7 separate regions of the Homo sapiens genome follow, and regions 1, 2, 3, 4, 6 and 7 are each linked to region 5. Evidence: promoter capture Hi-C in 16 types of primary human blood cells and fetal thymus (Javierre and others, 2016). All regions are on one chromosome and are shown on one strand. The core of a region is centred on a gene start or on the middle of the fragment in contact, and the rest is flanking DNA. Distances in the headings are between cores, read along the strand shown.

Region 1 (4,157 bases), core at 766-3,265, 410 kb after region 5:
GGAGTGCAGTGGCGTGATCTCGGCTCACTGCAAGCTCTGCCTTCTGGGTTCACACCATTCTCCTGCCTCAGCCTCCCGAGTAGCTGGGACTACAGGCGCCCGCCACCACGCCCGGCTAAGTTTTTTGTATTTTTAGTAGAGACGGGGTTTCACTGTGTTAGCCAGGATGGTCTCGATCTCCTGACCTTGTGATCCGCCTGCCTTGGCCTCCCAAAGTGCTGGGATTACAGGCGTGAGCCACTGCACCTGGCCAGAATAGATTTTTCTTTTTAATAAAAAAAAAAATTAAGTTTTCCATTGTCGCGGAACAAAATAAAAACCAAGTAAGGGCAAAAGGCAACATTTATGTAAGAAAAGACAGGCCCCGAGGGGATCCAGCTCATGCTGACGGGTCTCCCACGATCAGATGGACGCCAAGAGTCCTGACCGTGTTTCCGTGATACAGTTACTACTAAGCACTAGTCTAGGCAAAACCCCATTGTTTGAAGCACACGTGGAAGGTCTTGTAACCACAATGCCATTTGCTGTGACCCAAGGAAGCAGTTTAGCAACCAATTCCATATGGTGTGGTGGGGGTGGAAAGGGCTTATAGAGGTGGGTTTACAGCTCTGCTCTGCTATTGAAGAGCTGTTTGGCCTGGGGAAGATGATGTCTGAGCCTCAGTTTCCCATCAGTAAAATGGGAGTAGTAATAGTATAACATAAGGGAACTAGCTTGGTGCCTGCATACAGCGGGTACTCAGTAAGTGGTCCACATTGGTTTGCAGTCACCGGCCTCTACTCCAGTCATACAGAGCAATGGCTCCGCCAACTCAGCATGTCTAAATAGCACTGGCGAGACAGAGGTCAGGGTAGCAGGGTGGGACGCCAGGCAGGGGAGAGGAGGGCAGGAAAGTCTGAAGGGGAAAAAGAAGATGTCAGCATAGACTGGGGGCCAGGCTGCAGTCTTCTAAGAGGGGGCTGGGAATAACAGGCCAACAGTTGGGGCAACTTAAGGTTAAGCGTAGGGTAAAGGCACAGACTGTCTCTACAATGAGCCAGGTATGCTGGGTAAACCCAAAGCAAGCCACGTTGAGGTTTCCTCACCCTCCCAAGCCCACCTGCTTCTGCTTCCGTTGCATAGTTCAATGTCTCTGCCATGGGGATGGGGGGTAGGGGTGAGGCTGGGGTAGGAGGAGCGCATGACCCAAGGAAGCAGTTTAGCAATCAATTACACTCAAACTTACATTCCAAAAAGAGCTCCCCCAAGATGTGCCGCATGATCAAAAAATTTCCATCCCAGGATCATTCCTGCTGTATCCATGGCGATAATGGCTTTCAGGGCCTGAAAGGCAGCAAGAAACAAGCGGCACAACTGTGATTGCTCCAGCACTGACATTTCTAACTTAAGGGCAAGAACCCACTCAACATAAAAACATCACCACTATCCCCAGCACTGCACTTCATAAAAATACTTACATTCCCTGCTGTGAACGTGAACATCGGAAGGAAAATAATGGCAAGCCTCCCTTCTGGGATCTTAGTGCAGACAGCTGCGAGGACTGTCATGATGGCACCAGACTGCAAAGTAACACAGCAGGGAGAATGGGAAACTCAATATGCAACTGCTTAGTGGCTACAAGGTCTAAAGAGCAGCACATTTTCTAGAAAGTTTACATGCTGCACATTTCTAGGTGAGCACAAAGCTTCAAAGCTTTCAGTTACTTATGTCCCCAATAATAGGTGAAGGAACTAAATGTCCTTCACACAGTAATCGCTTGGAAAGACTGAATTTTTACTACGGGGCAGTAAGATGTATGTGCCTCATGAACCGCAAGGACAGTGCTAAGCGTGTCATGCGCATCTTTCACCTATGGCCTAGGAAAGAACTGCTCACACTTCTCTGACAAAGCTCCAACCAGAGGGAGTGGGCATGAATACGCCCAAAGAAACCTGCATGCATGAAGCATGTTTCATCTTAAAAAATTCATGTGAAATCTTTATTCATCTTCATAAAGAAACAAAACATTGCCAGTGTGGTGGCTCACGCCTGTAATTCCAGCACAGTGTGAGGCATGAGGATCCCTTAAGCCCAGGAGGTCAAGGTTACAGTGAGCTATGATTGCACCACTGCACTCCTGCCTGGGCAACAGAGTAAGACCCTGTCTCAAAAATAATAAAGGAATAAACTGATACACAGAACATGGATGAGTCTCAAAGTAATTATACAGAGTAAATGAGGCCAGGACAACAAATACTAGTATATGCTGTATGGTTCCATTTGCAAACTAATTTATCTTTAGTAGAAGTAGGTAAGTTGTCGCCAGGGGTAGAGGAGGGGCAGGAAGGAGTGACCACTAGGAAGCTTTTGGGATGAATATGTCCATGATCTTGAGTGTGGTGATGGTTTCACGGGTGTCTACATGTCAAAGCTTACCAAACTTTAAATATGTGCAGTTTTTTGCATGTTAACTAGTAAACCTGAGTTGCCTGCTTTTTAAAAAGACTACATGGGGCTGGGTGCAGTGGCTCTCGCCTATAATCCCAGCACTTTTGGAGGCCGAGGCAGGTGGATCACCTGAGGTCAGGAGTTTGAGACCAGCCTGACCAACGTGGTAAAACCCCGTCTCTACTAAAAATACAAAAAAAAAAAAAAAAAAAAAAATTAGCTGGGCGTGGTGGCGGATGCTTATAATCCCACCTACTTAGGATGCTAAGGCCCGAGAATTGCTTGAACCCGGGAGGCAGAGGTTGCAGTGAGCCGAGATTGTCCCACTGCACTCCAGCCTGGGTAAAACAGCGAGACTCTGTCTCAAAACAAAACAAAACAAACAAACAAAAAAGACTTTATGGGAGTCCTCTGTACTATTTCCTGCAACTTTCCATAAGTTTTTAATTATTTATGAATGAGATGTTTAAAAAAAAAAAAAAGACACCTAAGAGCAAAATAACTTTTGAAAGAAGCCCCTATCATTAAAAAGAAAGGTTCCTACCTTTTCATATAAAAACGGTTGTTTCTGGAAAATAGCATCTACCTCTCTTAATCAATGTTTTCTTAATGTCTTCTATGTGACGGGTTGCTTCAGAATACAAGATTATCTTACATTTGGGGAATTACTAAAACTTTAAAGAAAATTATTATGAGTCCCAGAGATCTCAGATGTCCCCAGTCCCTCATATAACTGCCAAGTGGCCTCAACAGGGAAACAAGCTCGGGTTGCATTCTTAGAAGTCAGGGTAACTGCAAGATGGAAGGACAGCATGAACACTCCTCAAAAGGAGGACCCAAGAAGACCTGAATTTTGACCAAGCTGGCTTCTGTGCAAGAGACTATAATTGTAGCCGGGCACGGTGGCTCACGCCTGTAATCCCAGCACTCTGAGGGGCCGAGGCAGGTGGATCACCTGAGGTCAGGAGTTCAAGACCAGCCTAGCCAACATAGTGAAACCCCGTCTCTACTAAAAACACAAAAATTAGCCAGACGTGGTGGTGGGCGCCTGTAGTCCCAGCTACTCGGAAGGCTGAGGTTGTGGTGAGCCAAGATTGAGCCACTGTACTCCAGCCTGGGCGACAGAGTGACACTTTATCTCAAAAAAACCCCAAAACAAATCAAAATTACACGTTTCCCCAAAATGAAGCAAATATAATTTGATTAGTTGATATGAAAGAGCATTAAAATTCTATGAAGTTCTGCCAGGCACAGTCGCTTACACCTGTAATCCCAGGACTTTGGGAGGCTGAGGCGGGCAGATCACCTGAGGTCTGGAGTTCGAGACCAGCCTGACCAACATGAAGAAACCCAGTCTCTGCTAAAAATACAAAATTAGCTGGGCATGGTCGTGCATGCCTGTAATCCCAGCTACTCAGGAGGTTGAGGCAGGAGAATTGCTTGAACCCGGGAGGCAGAGGTTGTAGCGAGCCGAGATCGCACCTTTGCACTCCAGCCTGGGCAACAAGAACGAAACTCCATCTCAAAAAAAAAAAAAAAAAAAAAAAAAAAAAATTCTATGAAGTTCTTCTAAACTACTATTCCATAGATGATTATTCTCCATCTGTTAAAAAAAATTGTCGTTATCTGTACAATTCCATGGAACGCTGGTTTTTTTGTGATTATAACTTATTGTAATTATTACATACACAGTTCCATCATCCTTCTAGAATTTTCTCGATGTGGCTTTT
Region 2 (4,408 bases), core at 460-2,959, 440 kb after region 5:
GGTAGTACTATACTGAAAGTAAGGTGGTACTATTCTCAAAGTAAGGTGGTACTATACTCAAGGTGGTACTATACTCAAAGTAAGGTGGTACTATATTCAAAGTAAGGTGGTACTATTCAATAAGATAAGGAAAATTGGAAGCCTCAAAATAGGCAACTGGGAGATAAGAGACGAACAATTCCAGCTGGGGTGCTGTTTAAAATGCTTGCAGTCATGGCAGCTTCATTCCTCTAGCTAAAAACTGAAACTTAAATTTCCATTAACAGGAGAAATTCTGTGGTATATTCATATAATGGAATATTACACTTGGCCAAAAAAAAAAAAAAAGGCTTGGGGGGGAGGGGTGGGGAAGAACTAATCATACATCATGGATAACTCTCAAAAACACTTTTGGCAAAAGAAGTAAAATACAAAAGAGTACATGATATGTGATTCTGTGACTTCCATTGCTAAGAAGTTGACAGACACACTAACCTGTAGTGATAAATATTAGATGAGCGATTGCCTGGAATGGGTGGGGCTTGACAGGAAAGGAGCAAGAGGAAACTTGCTGGGATGACGGCCATCTTTATCTTGATTTAGGTGATAGTCACACAGGTGTATACATTAATCAGAATGCACTGGCTGTATATTTAATACTTATACATTTTACTATATGTAAACTGTATCTCAATAAAGTATTTAAAAGAATGCTCATAGGACATCCAGGTGGAGGTATCTTAATAGGCATTTTGGAAATAAATGAAACTCAGAATAATAGCATAGCTACTACTACTATTACTTGCCTAGAATGCATTTTTTTTTTTTTTTTTTGAGATGGAGTTTCGCTCTTGTTGCCCAGGCTGGCATGCAATGGCGTGATCTCAGCTCACTGCAACCTCCACTTCCCAGGTACGAGCGATTCTCCTGTCTCAGCCTCCCAAGTAGCTCGGATTACAGGCATGTACTGCCACACCTGGCTAATTTTTTTGTATTTAGTAGAGACGAGGTTTTACCACGTTATTCAGGCTGGTCGCGAACTCCTGACCTCAGATGATCCACCCGCCTCGGCCTCCCAAAGTGCTGGGATTACAGGCATGTGCCACCATGCCTGGCCTAAGAATGCCCTTTCTCTTCAACACTGAGTCCACTCAATTCAACTCAGAAATCACAGTGAGGAAAGTGATTATAATTTGACTTGAGATTTTAATTTCAGAATTTATACTTCCAAATAAGTGATATTCCTTTCAAAGAAATCTATTACAGAAAAAGCAGAAAAGGTTTGAGTAAGTTCATCTATTTTGGAAAGTTATAAACTTATGCAACCAATGGTACTGTTGCTCTAAATGGCTCTTAACTCCCTTCAGAGCCTGTTACCAGTCTTATAACGAATATCCTTTAGCAAACCCTGTTGAATAGCTAATCCCAAATCTATTTCCAACCCTTTCCCCTTGCCTGCTTTTTCTGTAATAGGAAATATCTTCACTTTTCCAGGCTCCCCTAGAGCTAGTGGTAACCATATCACACAGGATTACAGCCAAATGAAACATAAGAATTTTTCAGGAGCCCCTTGGAAAGGTTTTGCTTACCTGATAAAAATGGACACGTCACTGATGTCAAGCACACCCCCTTCTTTCTGCCTTAAATAAGAATATAATGCCTAGAGACGAGGCAGTCATCTCAAATGCCAAGAGAAAGGCCAAGGGATTCAGACACTAACCTTGACATTTTTGAGCCACTGAGCAAAGACACTAGCCACTTACCTCCCATCATCCTATATTTGATAAATAACTCCCCTTCTTATTTAAACAACCATCAGTTTATTTACTGCCAAATGTATTCCTGGTATAATTTTTAAAGTGGTAGATGTTAACTTTTTGCAACTGGATTTGATTTAAAGATCCCAAAGTAACCTGGAGATAGGTCTAGTAAGTAAAGTCGCAATTAATTAATCAAAACAAGTAATGCCACTTTGGGCCAAAACAAAGGTGTATCATAAAGTAATAGGAATATATTTACCATAAAGATGACAAGTTGACAGCCGGGCATGGTAGCTCACGCCTGTAATCCCAGCACTTTGGGAGGCTGGGGTGGGAGGATCACCTGAGGTCAAGAGTTCGAGACCAGCTTGGCCAACATGGTGAAACTCCATCTCTGCTAAAAATACAAAACTTAGCTGGGCGTGGTGGCGCACGCCTGTATTTTGATTACAGGCGTGGTGGCACATGCCTGTAATCCCAGCTACTCAGGAAGCTAAGGCAGGAGACTCTCTAGAACCCAGGAGGCAGAGGTTGCAGTGAGGCGAGATCACGCCATTGCACTCCAGTGTGAGAGCTCCTGAGTGACAGAGCAAGACTCCGTCTCAAAAAAAAAAAAATTAATTAATTAATTAAAGATGGCAAGTTGTAACCCAGTAATCTTGGTTCCTAGCATTTGTCATGTACTGGACTGAGAAATACAAAGGATAAGAAATACAAAGGATTTGTATTTCCAACAGCTTAATACTACACAATCAATTCTAATAAAAAACTACTTCTACCTGTCACCAATTCACTTAAAATTTTGAAGCACAAGTTTTAAAAGGAACATAAACACGCTAGGTTGGGAATCTGGACTTGAGGCAAAGCCAGACCTTTTTGCCTAAAATATATACCTCGAGGATCTCACCAGAAGTGTGCATCAAGCTGAGGACATTAAGAGTACATTACACAAGCTGGCCCCAGGGTTAAGTTCAGAACTTATCAGTAGGTACACATACTGAATACATCACACACAGGCATACCTCGATTTATTGTACTTCACAGATATCCCAAGTTTGTTACACAAATTGAAGGTTTGTGGCAACCATACATCTAGCATGTCTTTTGGCACCATTTTTCCAACAGCATGCGCTCACTTGGTGGCTCTGTGTCACATTTCCGTAATTCTCACAACACTTCAATTTTTTCTTATCTGTTATGGTGATTTGTGATCAGTGACCTTTGATGTTACTACTGAAATTGTTTTGGGTGCCATGAACCATGAGACAATGAACTTAATAATGTTGTGTAGGTTCTGACTGCTCTACCAACCAGCCATTGCCCACCTTTCCCTCTCTTTGGACCCCCCTATTCCTTGGAACACAACAATATTGACACTGGTCAATTAATAACCCTACAATCACCGCTAAGTGTTCAAGCTGAAAGGAACAGTCACATGTCTCTGGCTTGAAATCATTAGAAATAATCTTTTTTTTTTTTTTTGAGATGGAGTTTTGCTCTATCACCCAGGCTGCAGTGCAGTGGCGCGATCTCGACTCACTGCAACCTCCACCTCTCGGGTGCAAGCGATTCTCCTGCCTCAGCCTCCCAAGTAGCTGGGACTACAAGCACCTGCCACCACACCGAGCTGATTTTTGTATTTTTAGCAGAGATGGGGTTTCGCCATGTTGGCCAGGCTGGTCTCGAACTCAAACCTCACGTGATCCTCCCGCTTCGGCCTCCCAAAGTGCCCAGCCAATTAGAAATAATTAAGCTTAGTGAAGAAGGCATGTCAAAAGCTGAGATAGGCCAGGAGCTAAGCCTCTGGCACAAATAGCCAACTTGTAAATACAAAGAAACAATTCTTGCCAGACATGGTGGCTCACAGCTGTAACCCCAGCACTTTGGGAAGCTAAGGCAGGAAGATCACTTGAGTTCAGGAGTTTGAAACCAACCTGGGCACCATAGTGAGATCCTGTCTCTATAAAAAATTTAAAAATTAGCCAAGTGTGGTGGCTTGCGCCTATAGTACTAGCTACTTGGGAGGCTGAGGCAGGAAGATCACTTGAGCCCAGGAGGTCAAGGTTGCAGTGAGCTACAAATGCATTGCTGCACTCCAACCTGGATGACAGAACTAGACTCTGTATCAACAACAGCAAAACTACTGAAGGAAATTTTAAGTGCTACTCCTGAGAAGAGAAAAATAGTAGGCTGGGTGTGGTGGCTCCCATCTGTAATCCTAGAACTTTGGGAGACCAAGACGAGAGGATCAACTGAGGTCAGGAGTTCGAGACCAGCCTGGCCAACAATGTGAAACTCCATCTCTACTAAAAATACAAGAATTACCTGGGCGTGGTGGCGGGCGACTGTAATCCCAGCCACTGGGGAGGTTGAGGCAGGAGAATCGCTTGAACCTGGGAGATGGAGGCTGCAGTGAGCTGAGATTGTGCCACTGCACTCCAGCCTGGGCGACAGAGCAAGACTCTGTCTCCAAAAAAAAAAAAAAAAAAAAAAATAGAGTAAGAAAGCAAAACAGCCTTATTGCCAACATGGAAAAAATTACATGAATAGAAGATCAAATCAGCCACAACATTCCCTTAAGCCACAGCCAATCTAGAGCAAGACTAACTCCTTCAATTCTATGAAGGCTGAAAGAATTGAGGAAGCTGCAGGAAAAAAGTCTGAAGCTA
Region 3 (4,120 bases), core at 1,535-4,034, 380 kb before region 5:
TCTGAGAGTTAAAAACTCCAAGGCGACCCAGTTACAGGAGGACCTCACACTTTTGTGAGTTTTACCTCCAGGAGCTCTACCAGGTCTTCACAGTGAATATCAGAGAAAAATCCTCCCATGCTTCCAGCTCAGAAGGGAAATGAAACCACTTTGAAATACACCAAAACATTCAAGGTTTACCCTTGAGAAAAACTATTTTATCAGAGCCTAAACGATTGGGATTTTATCAGAGCCTAACCTCACTGGGGGAGGAGAAATACCCAACTCCAGCCTTTGCCAGACATACTGTCCACCCTAAGGGGTGGGGGAAAACAAAACAAAAACATACCAGGAAGCACTGGTGAAGTTCACACACCAGGGGCACAGGCTCAGCAAGACTGAGATCTGATCATGGGACAAGAGAACATGCCCCCTCCAGCCTTATCACATTACCAAAGGCCTGTTTAGCAAAATTCTCTTTACCCAGTACACCATGTCCATCTTTCAACAAAAAATTACAAGGCATACTAAAAGGCAAAAAACACAGTTTGAAGAGACTGAAGAAGCATCAGGTATGGCAGGAATGTTAGAATTATCAGACACAGAAATTCTAAACTGTGATTAACAGGCTAAGGGCTTTAATGAAAAAAGTAGACAACATGCAAGAACAGATAGATAATGTAAGCAGAGAGGTGAAAATTCTAAGAAAGAATAAAAAGGAAATGCTAGAATTGAAAAAAAAAAAACCATAACCCTAATAGAAATGAAGCATGCTTTGATGGGCTCATTAGTACGTTGGGTATGGCAGGGAAAGAACCTCTGAACTTGAGGATATGACAACAGAAACTTCCAATTCTGAAAAACAGTGAGAAAAAAAACCTTAAACAGAACAATACCTAGCACTGCAAGACAACTACAAAAGGTATTAACTACGCAGAACGAGAATACCAGAAGGAGAAGAAAGGAAGGAACAGAAGTAATATTTGAAACAATAATAACATGTTACTGCATACTGTAGGCAACTGTAACACAGTGGTAAGTATTTGTGTATCTACATATATCTAAACCTAAAGAAAGTAATGCATTGTACTATGATGTTACAGTTGCCACAATGTCACTGGATAGGAATTTTTCAGCTGCATTTTAATCTTATGGAACCATTGTTATATTGAATAAAATGGTGTTATGCAGCATATGACTGTACTTGATATGCTAAAAAAGGAGAGGAAATTGGATCATAGAAGATGCTCAATTAAAACCATGAAAGGCAGAAAAAGTCTGAAAGATAAAAATAGGAACAAACAAGGGGAATAAATAGAAAACAATAATAAATATGGTAAATATTAATCAAAGTACATTAATAATCACTTTAAATGTTGATGTCTAAATATACCAATTAAAAGACAGAGATTGTTGGAGTAGATTAAAAAACAAAAGACAAATATATGTTACCTACAAGAAATCCACTTTAAAGACTTATAGACTTAAAGTAAAAACAGACAAAGAATATGCTAACACCAAAGAAAGTGCGAGTAGCCATCTTAATTTTAGAGCAAACTTCAGAGCAGGGAAAGTTATCAGGGATAAGGAGGGGCATTAAACAATGATAAAAGGGTAGACATAACAATTTTTAACATGCATGTACCTAACAACAGAGCATAAAATATATGTAGCAAAAAAGAATTGTAAGGAGAAATAGATTAATTCACTATTACAGTTGGAGACTTTAACACCCATCTGTTATTAAATAGATATGGATGATCCAGCAGGCAGAAAATCACTAAGGACATAGTTGAATTCAACAACACCATCAATCAACTGGATACAACTGTCATCTATAGACTATTTCATCCAACAACAGCAGAACACATTCTCAAGCTAGAAAGGAATATTCACCAGGATAGACCACATTCTGGACCATAAACCACATCTTAACAAATTTAAAAGAATATAAATCATAACAGTGTCTGCTCTCAGAACATAACAGAATTAAACTAGAAATCACTAACAGAAGGATATCTGGAAAATCCTAAGATATTTGGATGTTAAACAACACACTTCTAAATGACACCTGAATCAATAAAGAAATCTCAAGAAAAAATTTAAAATATTCTCAACTAAATAAAAATACAACTTTCAAAATTTGTAGAATGCATCAAAAGCAGTGCTTAGTGGGAAATTTATAGCATTGAATGTATATATTAGAAAAGAAAATACCAAAATCAAGAATCTAAGCTTATATTTTAATTAATGAGAAGAGAACAGCAAATTAAATCCAAAGTAAGCAGAAGAAATAATAAAAATTAAAGCAAAAATTAATGAAATTGAAAATGGAAAATCAATAGAAAAAAATCACCAAAACCCAAACCAGTTCCTTGAAAAGATCAATAAAATCAGTAACCTTGGCCACAGCGGGCAGCTCAAAAGGTCAAGAGATCAAGACCATCCTGGCCAAGATGGTGAAACCCATCTCTACTAAAAAAATATAAAAATTAGCTGGGTGTAGTGGCGTGCACCTGTAGTTCCCAGCTACTCGGGAGGCTGAGGCAGGAGAATTGCTTGAACCCAGGAGGCGGAGGTTGCAGTGAGCCAAGATCTCACCATTGCACTCCAGCCTGGCGACAGAATGAGACTTTGTTTCAAAAAAAAAAAAAAGAAAAAAGAAAAGAAACAAAAGCACAATAACCTTTAGCCAGGTTAACTAAGAAAAAAAGAAGAGAGAAAATACAAATTGCTAGTAACGGAACAAAAAGAGGTCTATTACTACAGGTCCCATGGACATTAAAATGATAATAAAGAAATATTATGAATAATTCTATGCCCACAAATTTGATAACCTAGATGAAATGAACCAATTCCTTCAAAGACACAATCTGTCAAAACTCCTACAAGAAAGAGAGAACCTAGGGCCAGGTGCAGTGGCTCATGTGTGTAATCCCAACACTTTGGGAGGCCAAGGTGGGAAGACTGCTTGAGCTCAGGGGTTTGAGACCAGCCTTGGCAATACAGGGGGACCCTGTCTCTACTAAAAAATTTAAAAATTAGCTGAGTGTTGTGGCACATGCCTGTAGTTCCAGCTACTTGGGAGGCTGAGGTGGGAAGATCACTTGAGTCCAGGAAGTGGAGGTTGCAGTGAGCATAGGCCAGGTATGGTGGCTCACGCCTGTAATCCCAGCACTTTGGGAGGCCATGGCAGGAGGATCCCTTGGGGCCAAGAGTCTAAGACCAGCCTGGGCAATATGAGACCCTGTCTCTATAAAATTAAATTAAAAAAAGAGAATCTGAATAGCTATATTTATTAAAGAGATTAAGTCAATAATTAATAACCTTCCAAAACAGAAAGCACAAGGCCAGCTGAGTATAATATAACCTAGACAAGCTTGAGTATGGTGATGACTTTTTATATACAACACCAAAGGCATGATCTACAAATAATTTATATACTGGACTTCATTAAAACTTAAAACTTCTGCTCTGTGAAAAGGAAAGTCGGCCGGGCGCGGTGGCTCAAGCCTGTAATTCCAGCACTTTGGGAGGCTGAGGTGGGCGGATCACCTGAGGTCAAGAGTTTGAGATCAGCCTGGCTAAAGTGGTGAAACCCCGCCTCTACTAAAAATGCAAAAAAGTAGCTGGGTGTGTGATGGCACGTGCCTGTAATCCCAGCTACTCAGGGGGCTGGGACAGGAGAATCATTTGAACCTGGGAGGCGGAGGTTGCAGTGAGCCGAGATCACACCATTGCATTCCAGCCTGGGAGACAGAGTGAGACTCTGTCTCAAAAAAAAAAAAAAAAAAAAAGAAAGGGAAAGTTGAGAAGTGAAGACAAGCCTCAGACTGACAGTGTTTGCAAAGGCACATCTGATAAAGAACTGTCATTCAAAATATACAAAGGACTCTTAAAACTCAACAATAGGAAAACAAACAACCTGATTAAAAAATGGGTGAAAGACCTGAACAGACACTTCATCAAAGAAGATATAAAGATGGCAAGTATGCATATGAAAAGATGTTCAACACTGTATGTCATTAGGGAAGTGCAAATTAAAACAATGAGATACCAAATGGCCTGAATCCAAAACACTGACATCACCAAAAGCTGGAGAGGATTTGGAGCAACAGGAAACCTCTTTTGTTGCTGACAG
Region 4 (4,040 bases), core at 438-2,937, 390 kb before region 5:
TGTTTCATGCATTCTATTTAATTGTGGTCATTGCTTATTAGCATTTTTTGGAGACTTAGCTATGTATCATTTTCTGAAAGCTCTTACATACAGACTTGGATTATTTTCATAGAATACTGCCAAAAGGGTGTAGTGAACAGCAATCATGTTGGCTTTTCAATTATGTATTTATTTTTTCATGAAAACTTTTTTTAATTCCAAAAAATGCAACATACTTCAAATCAGTGCTTGGTGCTTTAGTGAAGAGCCATGCCAAATAACACAGTTGGCCTATATGAATTACAATCAAATATGTAATTCTTCTGTTCAATTCAGGTTGAAGAAGCCAGTGAAACTTTACCGCTTTTGATATTTGCATTCAGCATATAGGAGTCTAGAATAAGATACTTCCAGATTTGGGGGGTTGTATTTTTTAGGATGAAATGAGCATAAATGGATGGGTTAACCATTTGCAGAATGCTACTATATAAAGATGTTTACAAATTTTCATTATAAAGGCTTAACAATATGCCCAATGCACTTAAGATAATGACCATCTAGGCTCAGGATTGAAAAATAACTGAAGAGCTGTAACCCAATAAACTTGTGTGAACAAAATATTTGTTACTGGCTGGCATGGTGGCTCACGCCTGTAATCCCAGCACTTTGGGAGGCTGAGGTGAGTGGATCATAAGGTCAGGAGATCGAGACTATCCTGGCTAAAATGGTGAAACCCTGTCTCTACTAAAAATACAAAAACTTAGCCGGGCGTGGTGGTGGGTGCCTGTAGTCTCAGATACTCGGGAGGCTGAGGCATGAGAATGGCACGAACCCAGGAGGTGGAGCTTGCAGTGAGCCAAGATCGTGCCACTGCACTCCAGCCTGGGCAACAGAGCCAGAGTCTGTGTCAAAAAAAAAAAAAAAAAAATTTGTTACTGGGTGAGTGTCTTCATAGAGGTGAAGTAAAAGAGATTTTCCTCTGTCCAAGGAAGAGCGTTCTGTGATCAGCTGGTGAAAGTATTCTGCTCTACCTGGGAGGCATATTTTTATACCAGAACTGTCACAGTTCAATGACATGTCACATTCAAGGTTAGCCAGGATTCTGAGCTCTGACTCTGCCCATTGGGCCTCCCACACAAACTGTCTCACAGCAGAAGGGATACAGTGACCAGCTATCATAGAATTCTGGTCCTGCTGCTACACTGCTCCAGCCAAAAGTTTATAAACTGCCTTCTGGCTTAAGCGTCAGCCTCTTTTGACATCAGTTAAAGAAAATCAGTCACTAAGTCGAGCCAACTCAAATTAGTTTACAATCAAAAATCAATTTTCTACTGGAAAAGTGGTGGAAACAGCCTAAGAGTCAATGTCACAAAGAGTAGGTGTGAATCCTAGTTCTGCCACTCACTAGCCTTGACTAAACTACTTCACTTCTGTGCCTTACCATCCATGCTTTCATCTTCCATACGTGGGTATAACAGCGACTCCCCCTCATTTACGTTGTGAAGATAAAAACTTACATCAGATAAGGCACTTAATAAATTACAGCTCTGCAGTGACCCACTTCCACCTGAAACCCCTGAAACACTGCATGGGCAGTGGGTAATCGTCCCTCTCTGACATAGTTTTGAAAACTGTTTTTCTTATTTAAAAGTAATACATTCTCGCTGCAGAAAAATTGCAAAGCAAAAAAAAAAGTACAAAGAATTGGGGAAAAAGAGGTTTTTTTGGGCATATTTCTAACATTCTGGCATATTTCATTTCAGCTGTTTTGCTATGTTTATTTTATGACATATTTTTAGAATATTTACAAAATTTTTAAAAAGTGTAAAGAAGAAAAGCAAATACCATCAACTCTACTACCCAGAGCCAATCAATTCTATTATATTGGCATATTTCCCTCCAATGTTTAGCCTAGGCATTTAAAAAATGTAACTGACTGATCATGGCCAGGCTGGAATCCTCTTTTTCAGATTAATGTGATACATTTCTATGACTCACATTTCTCTTTTAATGAAACATTACTTACTGTTTTTACCATCTTTAAGAGTCATGTTTCTGGTATACGAGATATTCAGTCTTCTTCCACTGCTAGACGAAAATGGAGAGAATTGATCTAGAAAAAATTTAAAATTCAGTAACAAACTTATGAGTATCAAGCCTATGAAATTTACACCTTACAAAAGAAAACATAAAATGCAAGTGCTGGCCGGGCACAGTGGCTCATGCCTGTAATCCCAGCACTTTGGGAGGCCAAGGCGGGCGGATCATGAGGTCAGGAGATCGAGACCATCCTAGCTAACACGGTGAAACCCCGTCTCTACTAAAAATACAAAAAAATTAGCTGGGCATGGTGACGGGCGCCTCTAGTCCCAGCTACTCTGGAGGCTGAGGCAGGAGAATGGCGTGAATCCGGGAGGTGGAGCTTGCAGTGAGCCAAGATTGCGCCACTGCACCGGATCCAGCCTGGGCGACAGAGCAAGACTCCGTCTCAAAAAAAAAAAAAAACAAAAAAACACACGTCCTAAACTGGCAGCTCAGATGTGCTTTTTTTGTTCTTCTTGTTAAGTTTAAAGGGCTGGTTTTGTTTACATCTTATGAAATTTCATGTGAAAAATTCTAGCTTCTATTGAAGAATCTGAATATTTGCAATCTAAACTCTAATCCCATAGTGGCATAAACTGTACCACAGTCACCACCTTTTGATGGGGCAAATTCATTCCAGGTCACCAGTCTCTACTATTCACTATTTTTCTTTCACCTGGCCTCTTTTACTCTTTTATGTTTTTATGTTGTTGGCCCAGCCCTTATAGGCCTTTTTTTTTTTTCTTTTTTGAGACGAGTCTCGTTCTGTCGCCCAGGATGGAGTGCAGTGGCATGATCTTGGCTCACTGCAACCTCCACCTCCTGGGTTCAAGTGATTCTCCTGCCTCAGCCTCCAGAGTAGCTGGGATTACAGGTGGGTGCCACCACAGCTGGCTAACTTTTCTATTTTTAGTGGAGATGGGGTTTCACCATGTTGGCCAGGCTGGTCTCAAACTCCTGACCTTAAGTGATCCACCCGCCCTGGGCCTCTCAAAGTGTTGGGATTACAGGCATGAGCCACCGCGCCTGGCCCCTTATAGGCATTTGGGTGTATATCCTCTATTGGACAATATCCAGGAGCTTCAGCATAGCTAAGCTGATGCAATTTATTCTGAACCTCATATCTGTACCAATTATAAACTTTCAAAAGGAAGGTCACAGTAAGACAACGTTCCATTCTAAAAACGTTAAGGTCAGGCTCAGGAATACCACATGGGACGTATTTAGATGCATTTTCATTCAATGTAAAAGGATAAAATGAGGATAGAGCACAAATCTTCTAAAGATGCAGTTTTCGGGACTTAAAACATTTTACATTTTAAGCTTTCCATACAGCTATCTTGAATGAATCTAAATGAATTCAGAAATTAAAGATTCTAATGATAGGATCCTATAATAATACGGGTTCAGTATCACTTACCCAAAATGCTTGGGACCAGAAGTGTTTTGAATTTCAGATTTTTTTTTTTTTTTTTGGATTTTGGATTATTTGCATTATATTTAACTGGCTTAGCATCCCTGATCCAAGTATCTGGAATCTGAACTGTTCCAATGAGCATTTCCTTTGAGCATCATGTTAGTGCTGAAAAAGCTTCCGATTCTGGAGCATTTTGGATTTGGGGATTTGGGATGCTCAAACTGTATAGGGTAATATAATAATTACCAATAAAAGAGAAAAATAGATCAGATTTTTAAAAATTCTGTTTGCTCCGAAAGTCAGAGCTAGCCTGAAATGCAAAAAGTATGTGAGAGCTGAGATTTTGTATCAATTTAAAGGGCAGAACTTTTTTTTTTTAATACTTTAAGTTCTAGGGTACATGTGCACAAGGTGCAGGTTTGTTACATATGTATACATGTGTCATGTTGGTGTGCTGCACCTATTAACTCGTCATTTACATTAGGTATATCTCCTAATGCTATCCCTCCCCCCTCCCCCCACCCCACGACAGGCCCCGGTGTGTGATGTTCCCCACCCTGTG
Region 5 (4,191 bases), core at 974-3,473:
GAGGGACCAGGGATATGTCTAATAACTGAAATGTCTGTATAATCACAGTGTACACAGTATTTCTACCCAAATTATCTTACTTATCTTCACAAGTAGCCTTTGAGCTGAGTGGGAAAGTACTATTAAAATTCCTATTTTTCAACCTGAGGTCGAATGACTTGTCCAGGGAAAGATTCAAATCCAGACGGTCACACCCCGAGTCCACTGCTCTTTCTCTATACCACAACTTCATGCCTGTGCTGGGTTTTAGCACAATCATTTCAACTTTCATCATATTGCAGATTCCGAATTCTGTTTCATTACAAGTTCTTTTTCCTCTTATTTCACACTGCCTTCAGCAATATTTCACATTCAACCTTACCTGGTAGGATCCTACTGATCTTTTGTCGTAAAAGTTCAGTGCCCACAATTGGCACCAGAAACTTTTTTCTAAACTTGAATTATCAAAACTGGGCCTTCCCATATAAATCATCTTTACAAAGTATGTCCTCACAAGTGTATCATTTGAGATGTGCACGATTATTACAGCAAACACGTTGGACTAATTGAGGCAACATTTAACATGCAAGTACCAAGAAAGCAGCTTTCACAAATGTGTAGAAAACCAAGGCAAATAGTTCCTGGCTTTATCAATAAAAGCTGATTTGCATTCATGGGAGGACCTCCAAGCACAGTCAGCAACAGAGAAAATGATCCCGATAATTCCAGTTGCCCACATCCAGAGGTTCTGAACCTGAATGTGTGTCTTTACTGAGGGAGGTCCAGGGAAGGCCAAGGGGAAGAAAGTGCTAAGAAAAAACTGACTGGGAACTGTCTCAATGTCCTCTTGCCCTTACTTAGTCTGTGGGGCCTGACGTTCCATCACAACCCTTATTTCAGGAGCAAGCAATGCATGTTTTGCTCCTCTTTTCAACTCAGGGAAGAAGATTAAAATTGCTCAGTCTCCTTGGCTTGCAGAGATTTCTCGCGGGGATCATCAGGGGTGTGCTTAACCCTCCAGGCAGCACAGTAAAACAGGCCTAGCGGCCGAGCTGCGCAGGGGCGCTCCCATGTAACCTGCCTCTCCCTGCACTTTCTTATAAACAAGCCTTCAGTGGCGTGGCAATCATTTCTGCTGAAAAGCACTGGCATTCGTTCCTCTTATGCCCTCTCCTTTCTCACTATCCCCAAAACCAGAACATAACTTCCCACCCACCCTACTCCCGTCAGAAGCAGCTAACGGATGGTAACAGCCCAGCAGCCCTCGGTTTGGAGCTCAACGGACTCGGCAACCACCTGGTGAAGGCACCAGCCTCGGCCCCCCGACCCCCACCAGCGGCGCGCCCCAGGGATGCCCCCCGCTGGGCACCGCAGGCAGGACCCAGAGCAGCGAGGCCCAGATGCCGGGCAACCCCCCAGGAAGCGCGCTGCCCCGGGGCAGCGGGTGAGGCCAGGAGCCAGATGAAGCCCAGAGACCATCCTCACCCGCCATTAATAAAACGCAGGAAAAATTAAAGCTTCGTTTACCGACATGAGTGATCACTGTGGCCAGTCGCCGGGTGAGCTCCTGGGGAGGCATCTCTTCTTTTAAGCAAGACAGCATTTCACTGAAAAACCATTCCGTATAAATAAAGCCAAACAAAACTGTTTCTACCGCTGCGGTGGATGATTTTTTAAAGGCATCTCCGCCCAAGGATGCTCTGCCCTCGCCCTCTTCCTGGCTCTCCAGGCAAGAAACGAGAGTCCCTCGCAGCCTAGGCCAGCTCTCCCTCGCCACGCCCCGCGGGGGCTCCCGTGACAGACCAAGTCTGGCGCTTTCCCAGCGTCGCAGCTGGACCGAGAGAGGAGCGGCCGTTCTGCAAAAGGAAGCAAGTCGCCAATCTCGCCGGAACCGCGCCCCGGCTCCTCCGGCCGGGCGAGCTCCGGGGCTTCCAGAATCGCGGTCCCGGCCGCCAGGTTTCCGGCGCCGCCTCCAGGGACTGTAGAGTGAGGGATGCTCCGCCAGGTGCAGGGGAGGCGGCAGGTGGCCGTGGCTTCTCTGCGCCGCCGGCCCCACGCCCCAGCGCCCACCTCGTCCAGCCCACGGGTGGCGCCCGGGGCTCTCGGGGAGGCACGCACGCTCCCAAGCGCCGCTCGTTTTGGGGTCGGGAACGCTGCGCACCTTTCCCTGCGGGGAGCCCGCGCTCCACCCCCGGAGTGGAGCTCCGGTCCTTACTCGGAACCGTGGGGCGGGGAGACAGTGACTGAGGCGCTCCAGTCGCACCGGGGTCCGGATCATCAGACGCGCGCCGGCCAGGTCTCCGCCCCTCCTTCTTCCGCGCCGGGTGTCTGCGGAGGAGCCGCGGAGAGAAGGGGGCTGGCCCGGAGAGCTGCCGCCATCCGGCAGGACCCGGAGCGGGAGGCTGGGTGAGGCGCCGCTGCTTGCCCCACCTCCTGACCCCGGGGGCGGCTGGCGTGTGTTTTCCCCCACTTGGGGTTGTTCCACGCAGTTCTTGACCTCCGCTGGCCACACCTGCACTGGGAGCCCGGCGCCCGGGCTGCGCTCCGACAAGGCTGAGCACGCGTGGGCGCGCTCACCCCCTATGTGGGCGTTTTCCTTCGTGCAGCTGCGCCCTTGCCTCTGCTCCGTCTGTCACCTGTCAGGCACGCCAGTGCTACCTTCTGGAGGGGCTGTGGCACATCCTCCATGCTGGTCCTCCTCCCCATCAGCCCATTATCCCGTGGTTTCCCTAGTTGGGCCCAGACACTTTCTGACTGGCAGCAAAAGACTAACCCCAGTTCAGCAGAGCGCTACGGGAAACGCCTGAGCAAATGCGAATTCGGTCAGGTTGTCCCCCAATCCTTTCTACAGCGGGAGTCCCTGAATACTCAGCAGGCGGAATGGCGGGACCACCCAGGCGGATGTTCTCAGCCATCTCTTTCCTCTTCGATATGTAAAAAGCCAAGCCGCAAACACCCTGGATCCAAATTCTAGGAGTAGCCACCCATCACAGGGGGCTGAGGGTATTTTTTTAATGCTTTCTCTTTTCTTCTTTTTTTTGGAGACTGAGTCTGGCTCTGTCGCCCAGGCTGGAGTGCAATGGCGCGATCTCAGCTCACTGCAAGCTCCGCCTCCCGGGTTCACGCCATTCTCCTGCCTCAGCCTCCCGAGTAGCTGGGACTACAGGCGCCCGCCACCACGCCCGGCTAATTTTTTGTATTTTTTAGTAGAGATGGGGTTTGTTTCACCGTGTTAGCCAAGGATGGTCTCGATCTCCTGACCTCGTGATCCGCCCACCTTGGCCTCCCAAAGTGCTGGGATTACAGGCGTGAGCCACCGCGCCCAGCCCTTTTTAATGCTTTCTCTAACAATTGTGGGCTGTGATTGAGAAGCGAGGTCAGTTCACCTGTGTCATGAGATTTGTGGAGAGGTTCTTCCCCCTGTGAAGTTTGGGCACTTTGCACTCTGCCTGCAAAACAGAGCAAGGATTTTCTTTTTCTTTTCTTTCTTTTTTTTTTTTTTCGTTTTTAGAGATGGAGTTTCACCATATTGCCCAGGCTGGTCTCAAACACATGGACTCAAGTGATCATGCCCGGCCACTGAGCAACCATTTTCACAACCACCTTTTGCAAGAGATTCAAAAAAGGGTTAAAAGGCCGGGCGTAGTGGCCCACGCCTGTAATCCCAGCACTTTGGGAGACCAAGGCGAGCGGATCACAAGGTCAGGCATTCAAGACCAGCCTGGCCAACATAGTGAAACCCCATTTTACTAAAAATACAAAAATTAGCTGGGTATGATGTCACGCACCTGTAATCCCAGCTACTCGGGAGGCTGAGGCAGGAGAATTGCTTGAACCTAGGAGGCGGAGGTTGCAGTGAGCCAAGACCGTGCCATTGCACTCCAGCCTGGGCAACAGAATGGGACTCCATCTCAAAAAAAAAAAAAAAAGAAAGGTTAAAGATCCGCAGGAGGGGAGGCAGCTTTTGAATTATGTTTCCGGCGTTCAAGGGTCACAAGAATTTTCAAGGAACCAAATGAGATGTTTCCTACTGATAGTAGTCAGAACCCTGGTGCCCAGTCACAGCCAACTGTGAGTTTTGGTCAGCAGAAACCAACGCCTAGTAAAGAAGACAATGATGTGGGGTATGTTGGACTTGGAGTGTCAGAGCCACTTTGAAGATCCAGTAACCTCAGCTTCCTGGCTTAGGCCGGGTCCTTATGGGTGAGAAAC
Region 6 (3,903 bases), core at 491-2,990, 510 kb before region 5:
CTTAATTTGAATCTGAACATGTTAAAATTTGAGAATAAAGAGACATTTTTCATCTCTTTGTCTGGTTTGTCCCTTGTGCTTATGGGACTCCTAATGGCATTTCAGTCTGTTGCTGAGGCCATTATATTTTAATATAAATGTAGAAAAAAGAGAGAAATCTTAGTAAAGAGTATTTTTTAGTATTAGCTTGATTATTGACTCTTCTATTTAAATCTGCTTCTGTAAATTATGCTGAAAGTTTGCCTTGAGAACTCTATTTTTTTATTAGAGTTATATTTAAAGCTTTTCATGGGAAAAGTTAATGTGAATACTGAGGAATTTTGGTCCCTCAGTGACCTGTGTTGTTAATTCATTAATGCATTCTGAGTTCACAGAGCAAATTAGGAGAATCATTTCCAACCATTATTTACTGCAGTATGGGGAGTAAATTTATACCAATTCCTCTAACTGTACTGTAACACAGCCTGTAAAGTTAGCCATATAAATGCAAGGGTATATCATATATACAAATCAGGAATCAGGTCCGTTCACCGAACTTCAAATTGATGTTTACTAATATTTTTGTGACAGAGTATAAAGACCCTATAGTGGGTAAATTAGATACTATTAGCATATTATTAATTTAATGTCTTTATCATTGGATCTTTTGCATGCTTTAATCTGGTTAACATATTTAAATTTGCTTTTTTTCTCTTTACCTGAAGGCTCTGTGTATAGTATTTCATGACATCGTTGTACAGTTTAACTATATCAATAAAAAGTTTGGACAGTATTTAAATATTGCAAATATGTTTAATTATACAAATCAGAATAGTATGGGTAATTAAATGAATACAAAAAGAAGAGCCTCTTTCTGCAGCCGACTTAGACATGCTCTTCCCTTTCTATAAGCTAGATTTTAGAATAAAGGGTTTCAGTTAATAATCTTATTTTCAGGTTATGTCATCTAACTTATAGCAAACTACCACAATACAGTGAGTTCTGCCAGTGTCCCAGTACAAGGCATATTTCAGGTGTGGCTGTGGAATGTAAAAATGCTCAACTTGTATCAGGTAATGTTAGCAATAAATTAAATGCTAAGAATGATTAATCGGGTACATGTTACTGTAATTAACTCATTGCACTTCAAAACCTAACTTCCATCCTGAATTTATCAAGTAGTTCAGTATTGTCATTTGTTTTTGTTTTATTGAAAAGTAATGTTGTCTTAAGATTTAGAAGTGATTATTAGCTTGAGAACTATTACCCAGCTCTAAGCAAATAATGATTGTATACATATTAAGATAATGGTTAAATGCGGTTTTACCAAGTTTTCCCTTGAAAATGTAATTCCTTTATGGAGATTTATTGTGCAGCCCTAAGCTTCCTTCCCATTTCATGAATATAAGGCTTCTAGAATTGGACTGGCAGGGGAAAGAATGGTAGAGACAGAAATTAAGACTTTATCCTTGTTTGCTTGTAAACTATTATTTTCTTGCTAATGTAACATTTGTCTGTTCCAGTGATGTAAGGATATTAAGTTATTAAGCTAAATATTAATTTTCAAAAATAGTCCTTCTTTAACTTAGATATTTCATAGCTGGATTTAGGAAGATCTGTTATTCTGGAAGTACTAAAAAGAATAATACAACGTACAATGTCTGCATTCACTAATTCATGTTCCAGAAGAGGAAATAATGAAGATATACTCAGTAGAGTACTAGGTGGGAGGATATGGAAATTTGCTCATAAAATCTCTTATAAAACGTGCATATAACAAAATGACACCCAGTAGGCCTGCATTACATTTACATGACCGTGTTTATTTGCCATCAAATAAACTGAGTACTGACACCAGACAAAGACTCCAAAGTCATAAAATAGCCTATGACCAACTGCAGCAAGACAGGAGGTCAGCTCGCCTATAATGGTGCTTAAAGTGTGATTGATGTAATTTTCTGTACTCACCATTTGAAGTTAGTTAAGGAGAACTTTATTTTTTTAAAAAAAGTAAATGGCAACCACTAGTGTGCTCATCCTGAACTGTTACTCCAAATCCACTCCGTTTTTAAAGCAAAATTATCTTGTGATTTTAAGAAAAGAGTTTTCTATTTATTTAAGAAAGTAACAATGCAGTCTGCAAGCTTTCAGTAGTTTTCTAGTGCTATATTCATCCTGTAAAACTCTTACTACGTAACCAGTAATCACAAGGAAAGTGTCCCCTTTGCATATTTCTTTAAAATTCTTTCTTTGGAAAGTATGATGTTGATAATTAACTTACCCTTATCTGCCAAAACCAGAGCAAAATGCTAAATACGTTATTGCTAATCAGTGGTCTCAAATCGATTTGCCTCCCTTTGCCTCGTCTGAGGGCTGTAAGCCTGAAGATAGTGGCAAGCACCAAGTCAGTTTCCAAAATTGCCCCTCAGCTGCTTTAAGTGACTCAGCACCCTGCCTCAGCTTCAGCAGGCGTAGGCTCACCCTGGGCGGAGCAAAGTATGGGCCAGGGAGAACTACAGCTACGAAGACCTGCTGTCGAGTTGAGAAAAGGGGAGAATTTATGGTCTGAATTTTCTAACTGTCCTCTTTCTTGGGTCTAAAGCTCATAATACACAAAGGCTTCCAGACCTGAGCCACACCCAGGCCCTATCCTGAACAGGAGACTAAACAGAGGCAAATCAACCCTAGGAAATACTTGCATTCTGCCCTACGGTTAGTACCAGGACTGAGGTCATTTCTACTGGAAAAGATTGTGAGATTGAACTTATCTGATCGCTTGAGACTCCTAATAGGCAGGAGTCAAGGCCACTAGAAAATTGACAGTTAAGAGCCAAAAGTTTTTAAAATATGCTACTCTGAAAAATCTCGTGAAGGCTGTAGGAAAAGGGAGAATCTTCCATGTTGGTGTTTTTCCTGTAAAGATCAGTTTGGGGTATGATATAAGCAGGTATTAATAAAAATAACACACCAAAGAGTTACGTAAAACATGTTTTATTAATTTTGGTCCCCACGTACAGACATTTTATTTCTATTTTGAAATGAGTTATCTATTTTCATAAAAGTAAAACACTATTAAAGTGCTGTTTTATGTGAAATAACTTGAATGTTGTTCCTATAAAAAATAGATCATAACTCATGATATGTTTGTAATCATGGTAATTTAGATTTTTATGAGGAATGAGTATCTGGAAATATTGTAGCAATACTTGGTTTAAAATTTTGGACCTGAGACACTGTGGCTGTCTAATGTAATCCTTTAAAAATTCTCTGCATTGTCAGTAAATGTAGTATATTATTGTACAGCTACTCATAATTTTTTAAAGTTTATGAAGTTATATTTATCAAATAAAAACTTTCCTATATAATTAAAAGTGTTCCTTTATTTAAGCATTTTAAGCCTGTCTCTGTTTATCACAACCTGCACTGCCAAACTTGTTTCAAGTTAAGTTTTACTGTATTTACCCTTCATTATAGCACAGGGATATCATTTATGCCTTTCACTGACTGCAGTTTTTTAAAATGTAGTTCTTACCCAGCTTTTATAGATCATCATCAGTACAACTCCTGGAAAAGGCTCTGATAGGAATGTGCCAGCTGTAGATACCAGCATACCTCAACTAGAAATTGCATCATTCATGAAAAGCCAGCCAAGAGCACTTGTGAATTTGGAAATGGCCTGGTTCATAGAAAATATGTGCTTTTTTAAAAATATAGGACTGATTGATTGATTGATAATAGAATGTATACGTCCATATAAAATATTCCAGCTTCCTGACAACCAGTTATTTGCACTGCTTCCTCGGTTGCAAGTTAGAACAGACATAATTGTCTAATCTACATCTGCTTAAAAAGTTAAGCTGTTGTCTTTGCCCAGTTTTTAGTATTTGCAAAGGATGACAATGCATGATTTATGTAATGTATTTT
Region 7 (4,234 bases), core at 42-2,541, 390 kb after region 5:
CCTAGCTTTTTTCAAAAGCTGCTTTTGGGAACGTGGCCTGAGTCCTGGAGTTCTGTACCATGGAGCACAGAGAGGCGAGACCTTGTTCTAAATGCCTGCAAACCCCCTCGACTTGCGGAAGGATCTTTAGGACTTTCCACCTGCAGAGCGTCATAGTGCAGCCCGTGGCTGCTTGAGGCAGCTCCCGCAGTGGCAGCTTGGGTTGTGAAATAATTAAAAAGTTAACATTTTCTTTTGTCTGGAATTTGCTAACATGTTGAACTGCTTTTTATTTATTTAGAGACAGAGTCTGGGCCGGGCACGGTGGCTCATGCCTGTAATCCCAGCACTTTGGGAGGCCGAGGCAGGCAGATCACAAAGTCAGGAGATCGAGACCATCGTGGCCAACATAGTGAAACCCCGTCTATACTAAAAATATAAAAATTAGCCAGGCGTGGTAGCAGGTGCCTGTAATCCTAGCTACTCAGGAGGCTGAGGCAGGAGAATCGCTTGAACCTGGGAGGCGGAGGTTGCAGTGAGCCGAGATCGTGCCATTGCACTCCATCCAGCCTGGGTGACAAGAACAAGACTCCATTGTCTCAAAAAAAAAAAAAAAAAAAAGAGTCTGCTCTCTCGCCCAGGTTGGAGTGCAGTGGCACGATCTCAGCTCACTGCAACCTCCGCCTCCTGGGTTCAAGTGAGCACGTCTGGCTAATTTTTGTATTTTTAGTAGAGATAGGGTTTCACCATGTTGACCAGGCTGGTCTCAAACTCCTGACCTCAAGTGATCCACCTGCCTTGGCCTTCCAAAGTGCTGGGATTACAGACATGAGCCACCATGCCTGGCTTGCTTTTTATTTTTAAGAACTTTTTCTTTACAGAATTATTATAAAAATGTTTACAGAAACTTTAGCAAGCATAAAAAATGTGTTTGAAAAACTACTCATAATTCCTCCTCTGAAAGATAATCACTGCTAACATCTCTCAGTGCCTTTCTTTCAGTCTTATATGCGTATTATGTATGTGTGTGAGAGATGATTGATAGATAGCTATGAGTTGGGACCACATGGTTGAGACTTGTCTGTCTCAGTTGCTTCTTGGGTCACTTGCTGAACATGTTAGGCCTGATTATTTAGACCTAAGTGAGTGGGAAGGAGTTTCAGCATAACCCACATCTCCTCATAAAGAGGCCAGGCTGGGTGCAGTGGCTTACACCTGCAATCCCAGTGCTTTGTGGAGGCTGAGGCAGGAGGATTGCTTGAGCCCAGGAGTTCAGGACCAGCCTGGGCAACCATAGGGAGACCCTGTTTCTACAAAATGTACAAAAATAAATAAAAAATGGCCGGGTGTGATAGCTCAACGCCTGTAATCCCAGCACTTTGGGAGGCTGAGATGGGAGGATCATCTGAGGTCAGGAGTTCGAGACCAGCCCAGCCAACATGACGCCCCGTCTCTACAAAAATTAGCTGGGCATGGTGGTGGGCGCCTGTAATCCCAGCTACTCGGGAGGCTGAGGTGGGAGAATATCGCTTGAACGTGGGAGGCAGAGGTTGCAGTGAGCCGAGATTGCACCACTGCACTCCAGCCTGGGTGACAGCCAAAAAAAAAAAAGCCAGGCATGGTGGCATGCCCCTGTGGTCCCAACTACTCGAGAGGCTGAGGCGGGAGGATCACTTGAGCCCAGGAGGTTGAGGATGCAGTGAGCAGTGTTCACACCACTGGGTGACAAAGCAAGACCCTGCCTCGATGATGATGCACCCTCAGAGCAACACTGGAGTTGGTGTCTGTGAAAAGCTGTCTGCTGTGCATTGCAGAGGCTCTTGACCATCTGTTTGTTTGTCTTGCAGTCAGGCCTGTCTGGTGTGGTGAGGCCTCCACTGCGGCTGCCCCACCAGCACTGCCAGGAAGGGGCAGGCCCGGTTGGTCCTGGCTGAGCTGCAGCAGAGCTGACCAGCCCATTATAGGAAAAGAACAAACAAGCATCTGGGCGCTGTGCAGGGTGACGTTGGCCAGGGGGGGTGAGGGGCTGGGAGCACACGGCATCAAGCTAGAGGATGCTGGGAGCTGCAGGTGGGAACACAGCTGGCTCCCAGGGAAAGTGAGGAGGGGGGACTAAGGCAGGAAAGAATAATCCTAACACCTGTGCCTCAGTTATTTCCTGTACTGAGCACCCCACCCATAAACACGGATGCTCTTGGCAAGCCACAAGGTGTAGCTGGTAGCGTCGTCACTTCTCAGTGAAGAAACGGAACCCCAGTTGCTCACAGGTAGCAAGTGAAGCTGGGATTAGAGCCTGAGGAGCTTCAGAGAGAGGCGCCTGGGTGAGGGTAGGGGACGGGTGGGTTCTGTGGGCTGCACCTACCACATGTGCTCTGCACCCCACAGCAAGAAGTGCTCAGCATCAACAGGCCTCTGAGGTGTGGCGGCAGCTGCACCACACTGAAGTCCTTAGCACCAAGAGACTGGAGAAAACAAGCGTGAGAAGACTCGTGCTTATAATTTAAGAAACTGAAACTACATTTTTGCATTTTAGTAAAATCTGAGATTGTACAGTTTTTAATCTCATTTCCACAGACACCCAGCAGGCAGCCTCTTTTCTCTTAGAAAAATCAAACATGCAAGCCGTGAAGTCAGGAATAGCTGAACCCCTTGGATAAGCACACGCTTTGGGCTTCTTTAAAGCGAGCCTCTCATCAAGAGCATTTCCTTTGCTGGCATGAGGGGAGGGCTGTGCCTGCCAGGGCTAGCACCTGGGAGGGACGCTGACAGGCAGTCGGAGCTGGAACCACTGTCCCACCTGCACGTCTGGTGGCTCTGAGACCCGAGTGCCACCACCTGCAGCTTAAATGCTCGTCTCACTAGAGCCACTTGTGGGCTGGAGAGGAAGAAAGATCCAAAGGGAAATCCACAAATTTCCTTACTGAAGACTGTCCTGAGCTTGTACCTCTAAGCTTTAAAAAGAGACGAAGACCCCTCAAACGTGTGAAGGCACCAGGCGTGACCCATGTGGCCATGCTGGCTGGAATTTACGGAGGAAGTTAGGAGAGAGCTTTGCAAAGAAAATGAACTGCCTCTTCAAAAGGTGGTGAGTTCCCCGTCACTGTACATGTGAGCAGGGTAGACGGAAGGGTTGGTGTAGAGGACATTTTAAGGTATTTCAGGGAATGAGACAAATGCCACCTTCCCAAAAACAGTTCCAGTTCTCAGCCAGTGTGTATGATAGTGCCCTGCTCATCATCCTTATGTTAGCGGGAAAATCATTAGTAACAAAATGTGGATTCAATCTTTAGAACCTAGCACAAGGTAAATGTGAGTCATTCAATCCCAAGAACTGTTTTGTTAAAACATGAGGCTCATCTTGGCCATAAGGAGGTCTGTGAAGTGGAAGCCCGTGACTGACGGTCTGTTTCTTCTGGAAATTTCCTCCTGGATACTCAGCATCACCATGAGTCATGCAGGTGACGGCCCAAGATTCCAACAGCTTCAACTGCAGGGGCCATTTGTAGGAAGAGCCAAGGGTCTCACTGTAGGTTATGAAATTAATCAAGTGCTCACGCATCCTGGGAAATCCACCAAAAGTGGACATAACTGGTTCTTTCAAGGGCCGGATGTGTCCACATTCCTCAGCTTCCATGGACCAATTCGGTTCCCAACTGACTTGATCCTCAGGCTCCTCAGAGATTTCAAAACTGAGAGACGGCCAGATGGCAGTTAACGAACGCAGGAGCCTTCCACAGGCTTCTCAAGAGGATGCTTGAGGCTGAGCTGGGTGTGCCAAGTCCATCGGTGCATCTGCTCCACACCAGCACTTTGGCCCTGGTGACAGCTTTGAGAGGGGCTGTGCCCTCCCGCAGGGGCCCATGCCATGCTCTCGCCCAGCCCCGCGGCAGTGGGTCCTGAGGCCGCTCCCCAGCCCTGTCCTGTCGGCAGCCATGGTGTCACGGTGCAGGCAGTCACACGTTGAGAATCCGGGGAGCTGAGGCCTGAAAGATGGCGGAGGGGTTAGGAGTGAACTTCTTCCTCACCTCTGGGACCTGAAAAATGAAGTGTGGCCACATATCAGTGGGACTTTTCCTTAACTCCCTACTCTTCCCCACTACCCAGCTCCAGGAAAAAATCCCCTCCCATCCTCTGCATCCTCCAGGAGTTGAGACCTGAAGGGTCAGAGGGGACTTGCCCACCGTGAGCCATAGGCGTCACTGCATTAGCAGCTGAGTGGTACACGGACCTTCCATTCTGCTCCCTGAACCACTTG

Evidence for each region. The method cuts DNA at HindIII sites, captures the fragments that hold promoters and counts their contacts. A CHiCAGO score of 5 or more calls a contact.
Region 1: a fragment that was not itself captured here is called in contact with the fragment with the promoter of MCF2L2 in region 5 in 2 of 17 cell types (fetal thymus and megakaryocytes); the score reaches 5.9 in fetal thymus.
Region 2: a contact is called between a fragment that was not itself captured here and the fragment with the promoter of MCF2L2 in region 5, in 1 of 17 cell types (megakaryocytes). The highest score is 5.4, in megakaryocytes.
Region 3: a contact is called between a fragment that was not itself captured here and the fragment with the promoter of MCF2L2 in region 5, in 1 of 17 cell types (M1 macrophages). The highest score is 5.0, in M1 macrophages.
Region 4: a contact is called between a fragment that was not itself captured here and the fragment with the promoter of MCF2L2 in region 5, in 1 of 17 cell types (M1 macrophages). The highest score is 5.3, in M1 macrophages.
Region 6: a fragment that was not itself captured here is called in contact with the fragment with the promoter of MCF2L2 in region 5 in 1 of 17 cell types (endothelial precursors); the score reaches 5.4 in endothelial precursors.
Region 7: a fragment that was not itself captured here is called in contact with the fragment with the promoter of MCF2L2 in region 5 in 4 of 17 cell types (endothelial precursors, M1 macrophages, megakaryocytes and 1 more); the score reaches 6.6 in endothelial precursors.

Annotation. Positions count from the first base shown.
Region 1 is chr3:183,832,267-183,836,423 of GRCh38, forward strand. It overlaps PARL (presenilin associated rhomboid like), which reads right to left. Exons shown (of 10, transcript NM_018622.7): 8 at 1,458-1,559; 9 at 1,226-1,323. Among named protein-coding and RNA genes, the nearest start is that of MAP6D1, 8.8 kb to the left of the region's middle. The HindIII fragment of the contact is 651 bases long and covers 1,691-2,341 here.
Region 2 is chr3:183,871,206-183,875,613 of GRCh38, forward strand. All of the region lies in intron 1 of PARL (presenilin associated rhomboid like), which reads right to left. Among named protein-coding and RNA genes, the nearest start is that of PARL, 11 kb to the right of the region's middle. The HindIII fragment of the contact is 3,561 bases long and covers 1-3,490 here.
Region 3 is chr3:183,046,951-183,051,070 of GRCh38, forward strand. The region is part of intron 9 of MCCC1 (methylcrotonyl-CoA carboxylase subunit 1); the gene reads right to left. Among named protein-coding and RNA genes, the nearest start is that of MCCC1, 50 kb to the right of the region's middle. The HindIII fragment of the contact is 1,144 bases long and covers 2,213-3,356 here.
Region 4 is chr3:183,031,986-183,036,025 of GRCh38, forward strand. It overlaps MCCC1 (methylcrotonyl-CoA carboxylase subunit 1), which reads right to left. Exons shown (of 19, transcript NM_020166.5): 14 at 2,006-2,092. It overlaps LOC124906309 (a long non-coding RNA gene), which reads right to left and starts at 1,999. Exons shown (of 2, transcript XR_007096188.1): 1 at 1-1,999. The HindIII fragment of the contact is 3,389 bases long and covers 1-3,382 here.
Region 5 is chr3:183,426,396-183,430,586 of GRCh38, forward strand. It overlaps MCF2L2 (MCF.2 cell line derived transforming sequence-like 2), which reads right to left and starts at 2,224. Exons shown (of 30, transcript NM_015078.4): 1 at 1,507-2,224. The coding sequence starts at 1,582. RefSeq lists a silencer at 1,974-2,053. The HindIII fragment of the contact is 2,747 bases long and covers 1,495-4,191 here.
Region 6 is chr3:182,918,286-182,922,188 of GRCh38, forward strand. It overlaps ATP11B (ATPase phospholipid transporting 11B (putative)), which reads left to right. Exons shown (of 30, transcript NM_014616.3): 30 at 1-3,344. Among named protein-coding and RNA genes, the nearest start is that of DCUN1D1, 60 kb to the right of the region's middle. The HindIII fragment of the contact is 761 bases long and covers 1,361-2,121 here.
Region 7 is chr3:183,813,424-183,817,657 of GRCh38, forward strand. MAP6D1 (MAP6 domain containing 1) reads right to left here. Exons shown (of 3, transcript NM_024871.4): 3 at 2,499-4,013. The coding sequence ends at 3,933. Among named protein-coding and RNA genes, the nearest start is that of YEATS2-AS1, 5.1 kb to the left of the region's middle. RefSeq lists an enhancer at 4,198-4,234. The HindIII fragment of the contact is 3,273 bases long and covers 1-2,928 here.